Regions from separate parts of the Homo sapiens genome. Here region 1 is linked to region 2. The links are contacts of gene promoters, found by promoter capture Hi-C in human tissues and cell types (Jung and others, 2019). All regions are on one chromosome and are shown on one strand. Each heading gives the region's core, a stretch centred on a gene start or on the middle of the fragment in contact. The rest is flanking DNA. Distances are from core to core; before and after follow the strand shown.

Region 1 (5,749 bases), core at 2,065-4,564, 730 kb after region 2:
GCTATGCAATATATCCATGTAACAACTCTGCACTTGTATCCCTTAAATTTATACAAATATAAGAAGAGAGAGAAAGAGAGAGAGAGAACTTAAAATAGATGACCTGAAATGGTCTCTTTTGGAAAAGCTTCAATTTTTTTAGTCTCCTCTACATGAGGCCTTATGCAGCATATAGGACGTTTCTATTCTGTGTTTATTTCTCCTTAAGAGATGAAAAAAAGAGACTAAGCACCTAGTTTGATTAAGTACAAGGCTTACAAGAAAGCAAAAGTAGCAACCCTGATCTCATCATTGCTGATTGACAAGAATGTTGTTTGTAGCATTACCAAATGTGGTCTCCTTTGCAAGAGAAAGCAGTTGAAGTAATAATAACCAGGTCAGTGATTCTAACAAGTGGATCATAGGAACAAATTAGCCAATGAAAATACATCCCTTTCTCTCTGATGTAGCTTTTTGGAGGAGGTGGATTAGTGAGCAGTGGGTCCCTGTTGGATGAGGGGTTAGGGAAGGGATGGCCTGAGCTCTAAACATAGGAAGGGCTTCCATGCATATCCTACATGTCTGGATGATGGATTGAGACTTGACTCTGCCATTTTTTGGCTTCCTCCTGAAGATGATAGTCAGTAGCAGTCAAAGTCATGGTTCAAGAAGGGTCACTAACATAGCACTTTCCTCTAGACACACCTCTCCTTAGAAAAACACCCAAAACAGAGTATTCTTCTTTGGAGTCAACAGTGGGAGAGTATGAACAAATAGAATAGATACTCCCTGCACACAAGGTATGGGCTCACAACAAGAGCTAGCCAGCTGGTGACAGCACTTTCTCTGTGGCCCACTGCTCCTCTAAAATAGGCCTGTTTCTGTATAAGAACCTGGTGAATTATTGAGAGGGAATTGGGATAAGTTGTTCTGCCCTCCACCCCTTTCCTCAGGGTACAGCTGGAATTGAGGTAAGTACATAATATCTAAGTTTAGGCCTATATTAGAATAATGAGGGAAATGGACACTTTGGGCCACTTAATGAGGTAAATGGACATTGAATGAGGTAAAAGAACATAGTACTGGCATTGAGGGACATAAATTCTAGCAACCAAACTGGGAGACTTCTCTCTCATCCAAGCATCCCAAACAAAAATGAGAAAAGTTCAATAGCAGTGCTATAAGGGAAAACCTCCGCAATTCCTTCTTGATCCCATTTGATATATATTTGAATTATTGACATAATGAATGTAAGGGAAGGGGATGCATTTGATGCACACTGTCATAGGCACTGAGTTGGGCACTGTAGTAAGATCTTTTTATGTGTTATCTTATTAATTCTTTAATTATTGGACTTATTTTATAGATCAGAAATATTAGCTTTAGAAAAGACTGGCCAGGCGCAGTGGCTCACTCCTGTAATCCCAGCACTTTTGGGAGGCTGAGGTGGGTGGACTGCATGAGCCTAGGAGTTTGAGACCAGCCTGGGTAACAGGGCGAAACCTCATCTCTAGTAAAAATACAAAAATTAGCCAGGCATGGTGGTGCACACCTCCAGTCCCAGCTACTTGGGAGGTGAAGGTGGGAGGATCACCTGAGCCTGAGAGGTCGAGGCTACAGTGAGCTGAGATCATCAGGCTGCTGCACTCCAGCCTGGGAGGCAGAGCAATCCTGTCTTAAAAAAAAAAAGATTAAGTAAATACCGATGACAACAAGCCAGTAAGTGGCAGAGCTGAAATTGGAATCTAGGATTCTTTGAACACAAAGGTCTTCATTTGGATTAGACCTCAACTATATATTTTTTCCTTTTTATTGTGGTAAAATACACATAACATACAGTTTACCATCTTAACCATCATTAAGCATACTACAGTTCAGTGGTATTAATACATTTACGTAGTTGTGCAACCATCACCACCATCCATCTCCAGATCCCTTTTCACCTGGTAAAACTGAAACTCTACACCCATTGAACAATAACTTCATTCCCTAGTCCCCCAGACCCTGGCAACTACCATTCTACTTTCTGTTTCTATGAATTTGACTACTCTAAGTAACTCTGGCAGAATCATACAGATTTGTCATTTTGTGGCAAGCGCATTTCACTTAGCATAATGTCCTCAAGGTTCATCTGTGTTGTAGCATATGTCAGAATTTCCTTCCTGTTTAAGACTACATAATATTCCATTGTATGTAGATGCATCGTGTGCATCTACAACCTCTGTATCTGTGGATTTCACATCTGTGGGTTCAACCAACTGAGATTGAAAATATTCAGGGGGAACTATAGATGTTTGCATCTGGACTGAACATATACAGATGTTTTTTCTTGCCATAATTCCCTAAACAATACAGTATAACAACTATTTACATATCATTTACATTGTATTAGGTATTATAAGTAATCTAGAATGATTTAAAATATATGGGAGGATTGGATAGATTATGTGAAAATACTACACCATTTTATATAAGGGACTTGAGGATCTGTGAATTTTGGTATCTGTGAGGGGTCTGGTAACCAATCCCCCATGGATACCAAGGGATGACTGTATCACATTTTGCTTATCCATTCATCTGTCATGAACAGTTGGGTTGCTTCCATGTTTTAGCTATTGTGAATAATGCTGCTATAAACATTGGTATACATGGGAGACCCTTTTGATTCTTTTGAGTATGTACCTAGCGGTGGAATTGCTAGATCATATGGTAATTCTATTTTTAGCTTTTGATGAACTACCATACTGTTTTCCACAGCAGCTGCACCATTTTACATTTCTACCAACAGTGCACAGAGTTCTAATTTCCCCATATTTTTGCCAACACTTTTTTTTTTTAATGGTGGCCATCCTAATGGATGTGAGGTGGAATCTCACTGTGGTTATGACTTGCATTTCCCAAGTAATTTTTGATGTTGAGCATCTTTTCATGTGTTTGTGACCATTTGTATATCTTCTATGGAGAAAAGTATATTAAAGGCTTTTTCCAATTTTTTGAATTTTTTTAATTGTTGAATTTTAGGAGTTCTTTTATATTCAGGGTATTAATCCCTTATCAGATGTATAACTTGACAATATTTTCTCCCATTGTGTGGGTTGACTTTTTACTTTATTAATAGTGTCTTTTGATGCACAAAGATTTTGTTTTGTTTTTACTCCCCAAAGGAAACAATCCCAAAAGCTTAAATTTTCATAAAGTACAGTTTGTCTATTTTTTCCTTTTGTTGCCTGTGCTTTTGGTGTCACATTCAAGAAATCATTGTCAAATCTAATGTTGAGAAAATTTGGCCCTTTGTTTTCTTCTAAGAGTTTTATGGTTTTAGCTCTTTGTTTAGATCTTTGATCTATTTTGAGTTAATATTTGTAGATGGTGTTAGGTAAGGGTCCAACTTCATTCTTTTTTTTTTTTTTTTTTTTTTGAGATGGAGTCTCGCTCTTTTCACCCAGGCTGGAGTGCAGTGGCACGACCTCGGCTCACTGTCACCTCCGCCTTCCGGGCTCAAGTGATTCTCCTGCCTCAGCCTCCTGAGTAGCTGGGATTACAGGTGCCTGCCATCACGCTCGGCTAATTTTTGTACTTTTAGTAGGGACGGGTTTCACCATTTTGGCCAGGCTGGTCTCGAATTCCTGACCTCAGGTGATCTGCCCGCCTGGGCCTCCCAAAGTCCTGGGATTACAGGTGTGAGCCACTGTGCCTGGCCCCAACTTTATTCGTTTGCATGTGGATATCCAGTTTTCCAGGAGATCTCAACTATATATTTTTTAAAGTTTTTTCAACTTGGCTAGCAAATAACTTGCTCAGGCTGACTTCAATTTGAAATTCAATTTTCAAGTACAGGTAACTTCATGCTCTATTATTGAAAAAAAGATACTAATTTTTGTCCTATTGTCCTGTAGCAGTTTAAAGAGATACAAATCTCTCAGGAGTAGATTAAAGACAATTTTTTTAAAAGGAACCCAAACAGTTGAGTATAATAATTATTTATCTATCTAGTGTTGTTTTATATCTATTCATTTATCTTTTTTTTTTTTTTGGTGGTACCTGTGGCTAGTTGCAACCCAATTTCAAAAACTAAAAACGTGAAGAATGGGAACTTGGTAAAAAAAAAACCTGCAAATCTACCAAGGGAGAAAAAGTATTTATAGTATGAAATAAATATGTTGCACCTAAAGGTAATTACAGCATGCAAAGAAAACAAATAACACATATTTTCCTCCTAAGATATACAGATTTCAAACACTCTGGAGAAAAAAATCCTGTTATTATTACTAAAATTCAGAGAGACTCACAGGACCAAATTCATATTTTAAGAATTTAAATGCAAACTTATGAAAATTGAGATTTCTGTACATTCCCAGGGCTCCAGTATATAGTCAAATACTATTAGGACTGGGAGGTCAAGGAGCAAGTACTGTGATATGTCAAGTTTCGTCTCCAGGGACTGAAACTTGCTAGCATCTGGTACTACTCTGAAATGTGCTGATTATATCAGTTCAGCTATTAATGGGAAAAATATCCAGTATGATGAAATCTTAATGGCTTGACTTCCAATTGTTTGTTATCTTTAAAGAAGATGATTTAAGATTTTGAAAAATCCCTAGAAATTTCAAGTTCAGGCCCTTTGTGTTGGTGCCTTTTTGCTGGAAAAGAAATATGCTTAAGAGCACATTTTAAAAACGATGTATCAATACTATACAAAACTTTTCATATTCTTATGTGTTTTAAAATTACAGAATAAGATTGTAATTAGCCAATATTGATTTTTTAAAAACATAAAGTTGTGACTGTCCATTATTTAAGACAATTTACTAAGATATAACTTAATACAGCAATATTAATTGGGGTTTAATGCTAGTGGTTTTTCAGATTTAGAACAATTATCTGCTTAGTTTCAAGTTTTAAATATAAAATTTTATCCCAAAGAAGAATTTTCCAGTTAGGCTATCCATCACTGCCCCTTCTCCAAAATACTAACATAAATTTATTTTATTTTATTTTATTTTTGAGATGGAGTCTCGCTCTGTCTCCCAGGCTGGAGTGCAGTGGTGCTGTCTCAGGTCACTGCAACCTCTGTCTCCCAGGTTCAAGTGATTCTCCTGCCTCAGCCTCCTGAGTAGCTGGGACTACAGGCATGTGCCACCATGCCCGGCCAAAGTTTGTATTTTTAGTAGAGATGGGGTTTCATTGTGTTGGCGAGGTTGGTCTCAAACTCCTGACCTCAGGTGATCTGCCCACCTTGGCCTCCCAAAGTGCTGGGATTACAGGCATGAGCCACCATGCCTGACCCTAAAATAAATTTTAAATGGAGGCATAGGCACAATTAACTTTGAAGCTTTAAATATAGTGATAAACTTGACTCTCGTAAGTTTGAGTTTGGAGCATCACAGTGGTCTGAGAACTATAGACCAAATCCCCTGTGGGACAAATCCAGCCTGTCACCTGTTTTTGTACACACTGCAAGCTAAGAATGGATTTTACACTTTTAAGTTATTGAAAAAAATGTATAAAAGAATATTTGGGACACATGAAAATTATATAAAAATCAAATTCTAGTGTTCATAAATAAAGTTTTATTGGAACACAGCCATGCTCATTTGTTTGGTATTGTCTATGGCTGCTTTCACTCTACAATGGCAGAGGTGAGTTGAGTAGCTGCCACAGAGATGTGTGGCCCACAAAATCGAAAATATTTACTAGCTGGCCCTTTATGCGAAAAGTTTGCCAACTTGTGAGCGTCATAATTGCAGCTTGCATTGTGAAGTCAACATAC
Region 2 (5,841 bases), core at 1,634-4,133:
GTTTAAAGTCTCTTTTTAATCCTACCTCTCAAGGCTAGAATGGTCCATAGTTAGAATTGGCGGTCACAGTATGAACTCATTGTTAATATAGATACAGAAGAATACACACAGAAATATTTTATAGATACAGTCATGCATTGCATATTAACTGTTCAGTCAACAATGGACTTCATATATGACTGGTGGTGCCACAAGATGATAATACTGTATTTTTACTTTTTTTACATTTAGATATGTTTAGATATGCAGGTTGCCTACAGTATTCAGTACATTAACATACTATACATATTTGTAGCCCAGGAGCAATAGGCTATACCATATAGCCTAGATGTCTAGTAGACTACACCATCTAAGTTTGTGTAATTACACTCTATGATGTTCTCACAATGACAAAATCACCTAATGATGCATTTCTCAGAACACATCCCCATCATTAAGCAATGCATGACTGTATGTGTATATACCCAGATTAGTACACACACATCTATTTCTTTACTCTGTTAGCTGAAAGGGCCTAAAACAAACGACACCCTAGCACCTGGGTGCTAGCAACAAGTACACCTAGCACCCAGATTTTGGTTTCTAAATAGCATTCTCCAAAAAAGGAACCAGGGCTCCTTGGAGAAATGGTCGATTCTAGGACTGGGACAGGAAACATACAAGATGAGTCCAGAGTAGTGCCAAAAAGAAAGTACTTAAAAACAAAAACAAACAAACAAAAAAACCCCACACAGATGGCATTGATGGGGCATGTCATAAGAGCACAGGAACCAACTGAAAGAGCTCCCAATGGCTAAAGCTGGAACAATTTGAGCAAAATAAAATAGCATTATAATCCAAAGTATAAAGTGAATATCCATGAGTCTATACTGATATAAAGGTTTGAACAAACCAATAAATGGAGAAGAGACAAATCTGTGCAGAATAATTCCAAAAAATTTATGTATATATACTCCAACCTTAAGAACAGGAGCATGGAGCTGGGCACAGTGGCACACACCTATAATTCAAGCTACTCGGGAGACTGAAGCAGGAGGATTGCTTAAGGCCAAGAGTTTGAGGCTGCAGTGCATTATGTTTGCACCTGTAAATAACAACTGTACTCCAGCCTGGGCAACATAGCAAGACCCTGTCTCTAAAAATATTAAACAGTGGGGGTGGGGAATATAACTCCCCATTCCTTAGGTGTGGCTGCACACCCAGGAGGTGGAGGTTGCAGTGACCTGAGATCCCATTCCTGCACTCCAGCGTGGGTGATAGAGCGAGACTCTGTCTTAAAAAAAAAAAAAAAAAAAAAAAAAGAAAGAGAAAGTCACTTTCAGTGATGGTAAGTTAGTATCTCCCAAGGTGATTTCATTCTACTTTTCAACAACTTTAATAATTAGAAAGTTCTTCCTGCTGAGTTGAAACCAGCTGCTCTCTAATTTCCTCATTTATTGCATGAATGAATGAATGAGAAGTTAACTAGCTCCATGAGAGCAGGGACACATTCTGATTCTGTTTTACCTTACTCAGCACCTGGCACTCAGTAGACACTCAAAGATTTGTGAATGAGTAAATGGTGAGTTGGCTGGGGGAAGGGCTTCAACTTCTATAACCCCCCCTACACATACTTACTAATACACCCACATAGCTATGAATACATATATGCAAAGGTTACAAGAACTTTTTGGAGTAGTTACTGGTATGTATGTGGATATGTATGTTTGTGCCTATCAGTTAGTAATCCATAAATGTTCATTTAAATCTTTACACCCTTATACATAGGTTTTAAAAACAATTTAACTAAAGCTAAGAGAAGTAAAGTAATCACGTGCACAATAAGTGAGAAAGGAGTGGGGTCAGTCGTGTCCCAAGTCCCTGTTAAAGGTGAGGAATGAATCAGAAACCTGGGGCTGGGGCAGTGCCTTCTCAGCATTTCTGGGGAAAAGCTCCTCGACCAGCAGCCAAGCAAGGACTGTGTGGCTTTGGGCAAATCACGTCACCTCTGGTTAGGCTGCATCCTCACCTGAAAACAAAAAGCTTCTAAACGGGAGGTGAACGCTGAGCGTGCAGGGACAGAGGGGAGGGGCAGGCGCGGGGGACGGGACCGGGGGACCAGAAGGTGGAGGAGGGACAGTCACTAATGGGCACCTGGGGGACGACAGAATCTGGACAACAAACTCCCGTGACACGAGTTTAACCTATGTAACACACCTGCACACGGACTCCTGAACCTAACATAAAAGTTAAATTAAAAATAAAAACAAAAAGCGTGGGCCCAGTGGCCTCTTAAACCTTTGCCAGTTCCAAGGCCCTGGTATTCTGGGCTTTTGTTGCTACTGTTTTGTTTTTTCCAAGCTCTGGAGTGTTTGCAAATTTAAGTTTAACACTGCCCCATCATCTCCAGCAAGTCACTTTCCCTGCTCAGTCTCCTCACGGGTCCAGTGAGGCGCCGGCCTACAAGGATCTTCACGGTCTCTTCCATTCTTTACTTTTCGGAGTGACCAACAAAGCCTAAAGCAAATAAAATTTACACTCGCAGGTGGGTGACGGACTTCTGACAGGGAAAACCCCGAGGGAGCCCTTTCCACACCGATTCTCAAGGGGAAAATAGGGTGGGCAGGATCTCCTCCCCTCACCCGCCAAAGCCCTGAGGTAAAGCTCTGAGCTCGGCAAGTCAGAGAGCACTACGCCGGCGAAGAACGAAGAAAGAAAAACGCGAAGAGACAGGTCTGCCGAGGCCTCATCCCCAGCGCTGCAAACCCACCTGCTCACCAGGTCCTCAGAGACCGCTCAGGGTTTCCCAAACTTCCAGAACGTTCCGTGAGCAGTGAGAGGCGCCGCCGGTAGGGCAGAGCGCCCAGGGTGCCTGGGGCAGGGTTCTGCAGTCGCTGGGCTTCTGCGCAACCGCAGACCCCGCAAACCTTTTCCGCGCTTCTGGCTCCCTAGAGCGAGGTTTGCAGGAAGCCGGAAGTGGTTAAGAAGATACAAGATTTGTAGGCCTGGCGCGGTGGCTCATGCCACTAATCCCAGCACTTTGGGAGGCCGAGGTGGGCGGATCACGAGGTCAGAAGTTTGAGACCAGCGTACCAACATGGTGAAACCCCGTCTCTACTAAAAATGCAAAAATTAGCTGGGCATGGAGGCGCGCACCTGTAATCCCAGCTACTCGAGAGGCTGGGGCAGGAGAATCGCTTGAACCCAGGAGGCGGAGGTTGCAGTGAGCGAGATCGCACCACTGCACTCCAGCCTGGGTGACAGGGCAAGACTCCGTCTCAAAAAAAAAAAAAAAAAAAAAACAAGATTTTTGCGTGTTAGACTCAGTTGTCCGGAATTGATTTTCACAGTTTTCTAAAATTCAGGCTCAATTCTTAGATTTCTGTCATTTGCAACATAAAATCAAAGTGGCCTTCAGTTTATCCAAATTATGAAAAAGGTAGATTTTCATGAGCAGCTGTCAAAAGGACATACAGGGGCCTGTGTGTTTGCTTTTTAGGACCCCATTATGTTCAGACCTAATTGAAGCTCAGCAATTTATTAAGTGTCACAATCATAAAAATGTAAAAAGACAAAGACCACTACTTGCCTTGAGCCTAATGGTTAGGATACAAAACTATGTGCCTTACTTTGTAAAACAGGTATTCCTGTAGAAAGAAAGGTGCTCCAGGAAAAATCCTTTGGAGCACACTTGTGATGTGCTGTTAATTTTTCCCTGTGATAACCATTTTGTATGTTTGGCATTTTGTATAACTGATATTAAAATTAGGTGCACTCTTGCTGCCTCATTTGGGCAGTTTGTTAAGCCACCACACCTGGCCTCTTGTTTATAAATTACCTGGTCTAAGGTATTTTGTTATCGTGGCCATAATGGACTAAGACAATTCCTCCTCTCTTCAAATCTCCAGAACTTATTCCTCATCTTCATTTTCGGCTGAAGTGAAATAGTTACTGCTAATATTTCATAAAGATTTATGATTTTAATAGTATTTAGTATTTAATATTAAATACTATTCAAATGAGATAAATAAAAGCATCCAGAAACGAAGTTCCACAGATGTCCACCTACCAATCTACCAACATCTATATGCCAGATTCTGCTTTCTTTCCAACTATAGTAGGTGAACTGTATAATCCTATGTAAGGCCAGCCCTCAAATGGACAACAGAGCCCATCTCTTCTTGCTTACCCAAGAATATAGCTCCACCGGCCAGTCGCGGTGGCTCACGCCTGTAATCCCAGCCCTTTGGGAGGCTGAGGCAGGTGAATCACAAGGTCAGGAGATCAAGATCAGCCTGGCCAATATGGCAAAACCTCATCTCTACTAAAAATACAAAAAATTAGCCAGGTGTGGTGGTGCACACCTGTAGTCCCAGCTACTTGGGAGGCTGAGGCAGGAGAATTGCTTGAACCTGGGAGGCAGAGGTTGTAGTGAGCCAAGATCATGCCACTGCACTCCAGCCTGAACAACAGAGCAAAACTGTCTCAAAAAAAAAAAAATATATATATATATATATATATATATATATCCACCAATTATTTCCTGACTCTTACAATCTTCAATTTTCTCCTCTCCACTGAATAGTCTCAATAGCAAATAAATATGCCATTATTTCTCTCATCTTAAAATCTCTTAATCTCCTCTCCCACACCAGCTAACAATCCATTTCTCTGCTCTCTTTACAGAAAAACTCAAAAGGATTGTCTATAATTTCTGTTGCTAATGCCCTTTTTTCCCATTCTTTATCAAATTTATTCCAATCAGACTTTTTCATTTCCACCATACCACAGAAATTGCTCATGTCAAAGTCATTGGTAAATCCAGCAAACAGCTGTCAATACTAATTTTACTTGGTCAATCAGCAGTACTTGTTACAGTTGATCATTCCCTCCTCCTGGAAAAACTTTCTTTCCTTGGCTTCCCCATATCATGCTCTCATGGTTTCCCTCCAGCCTCACTGGCCATTTATCAGCATCCTTATTGGTTCTTCCTCAAAACCCAACCTTTTAATCTTGCTTGGAGTGCCGCAAGCTCAGTCCTTGGACCTCTTTTCTTCTCTGGGTATATTTGTTACTTTGGTGTCCTCCTTAACTCATAGTGTTAGATATCATCCATGTGCTGACAAATTCCAAATATCTATCTACAGCCCTGGCCTTTCCCCTGAACTCCAAACTGGTATAACCAATTGCTGTTTAATATTTCCAGTAATAGACATCTCAAATTTCACATGTCCAAAACTGAACTTCTGACTTCCCCTCCCAATGCTGCACCATCTATAGTCTTCCTTATCTCAATTAAAGATTACACATATTTTATTTAAATACTTTGACTGTCTTACATACCCTTTTCAGCCATCAGGAAGTCTTGTTGCCTGTACTTTCAAAATATATCCAGAGCCTGACCACCTTTCTGGTTTGAGCCACCATCAGCTTTCACCTGGATTATTGCAATAGACTCCTAACAGGTTTCCGTTTTCACCTTGCCCCTAAAGTCTTTTTTCAACATAGCAACCAGGGTAATCCTTTGAAACAGAAGTCAGATTGTGTCTTTCCTTTGCTTAAAACCATATAATTGCTCTCAAAAAAAAAAAAATAAAAAAACAGGCCAGGCACAGTGGCTCAACGCTTATAATGCCAGCACTTTAGGAGCCCGAGGCGGGTGGATCACCTGAGGTCAGGAGTTCAAGACCAGTCTGACCAACATGGAGAAACCCTGTCTCTACTAAAAATACAAAATTAGCCAGGCATGGTGGTGGATGCTTGTAATCCCAGCTACTCAGGAGGCTGAGGCAGGAGAATTGCTTGAACCAAGGAGGTGGAGGTCGTGGTGAGCCGAGATTGCACCATTGCACTCCAGCCTGG

Evidence for each region. The method cuts DNA at HindIII sites, captures the fragments that hold promoters and counts their contacts. A contact is called where the count stands out against the background at its distance.
Region 1: a fragment that was not itself captured here is called in contact with the fragment with the promoter of C1orf146 in region 2 in 2 of the 25 tissues and cell types used here (heart left ventricle and stomach).

The regions. Positions count from the first base shown.
Region 1 is chr1:91,489,406-91,495,154 of GRCh38, reverse strand. It overlaps LOC105378856 (a long non-coding RNA gene), which reads left to right. Exons shown (of 3, transcript XR_947599.4): 2 at 4,031-4,151. Among named protein-coding and RNA genes, the nearest start is that of CDC7, 8.6 kb to the left of the region's middle. The HindIII fragment of the contact is 7,632 bases long and covers 1-5,749 here.
Region 2 is chr1:92,214,957-92,220,797 of GRCh38, reverse strand. It overlaps C1orf146 (chromosome 1 open reading frame 146), which reads right to left and starts at 2,883. Exons shown (of 6, transcript NM_001012425.2): 1 at 2,750-2,883. The HindIII fragment of the contact is 16,370 bases long and covers 1-5,841 here.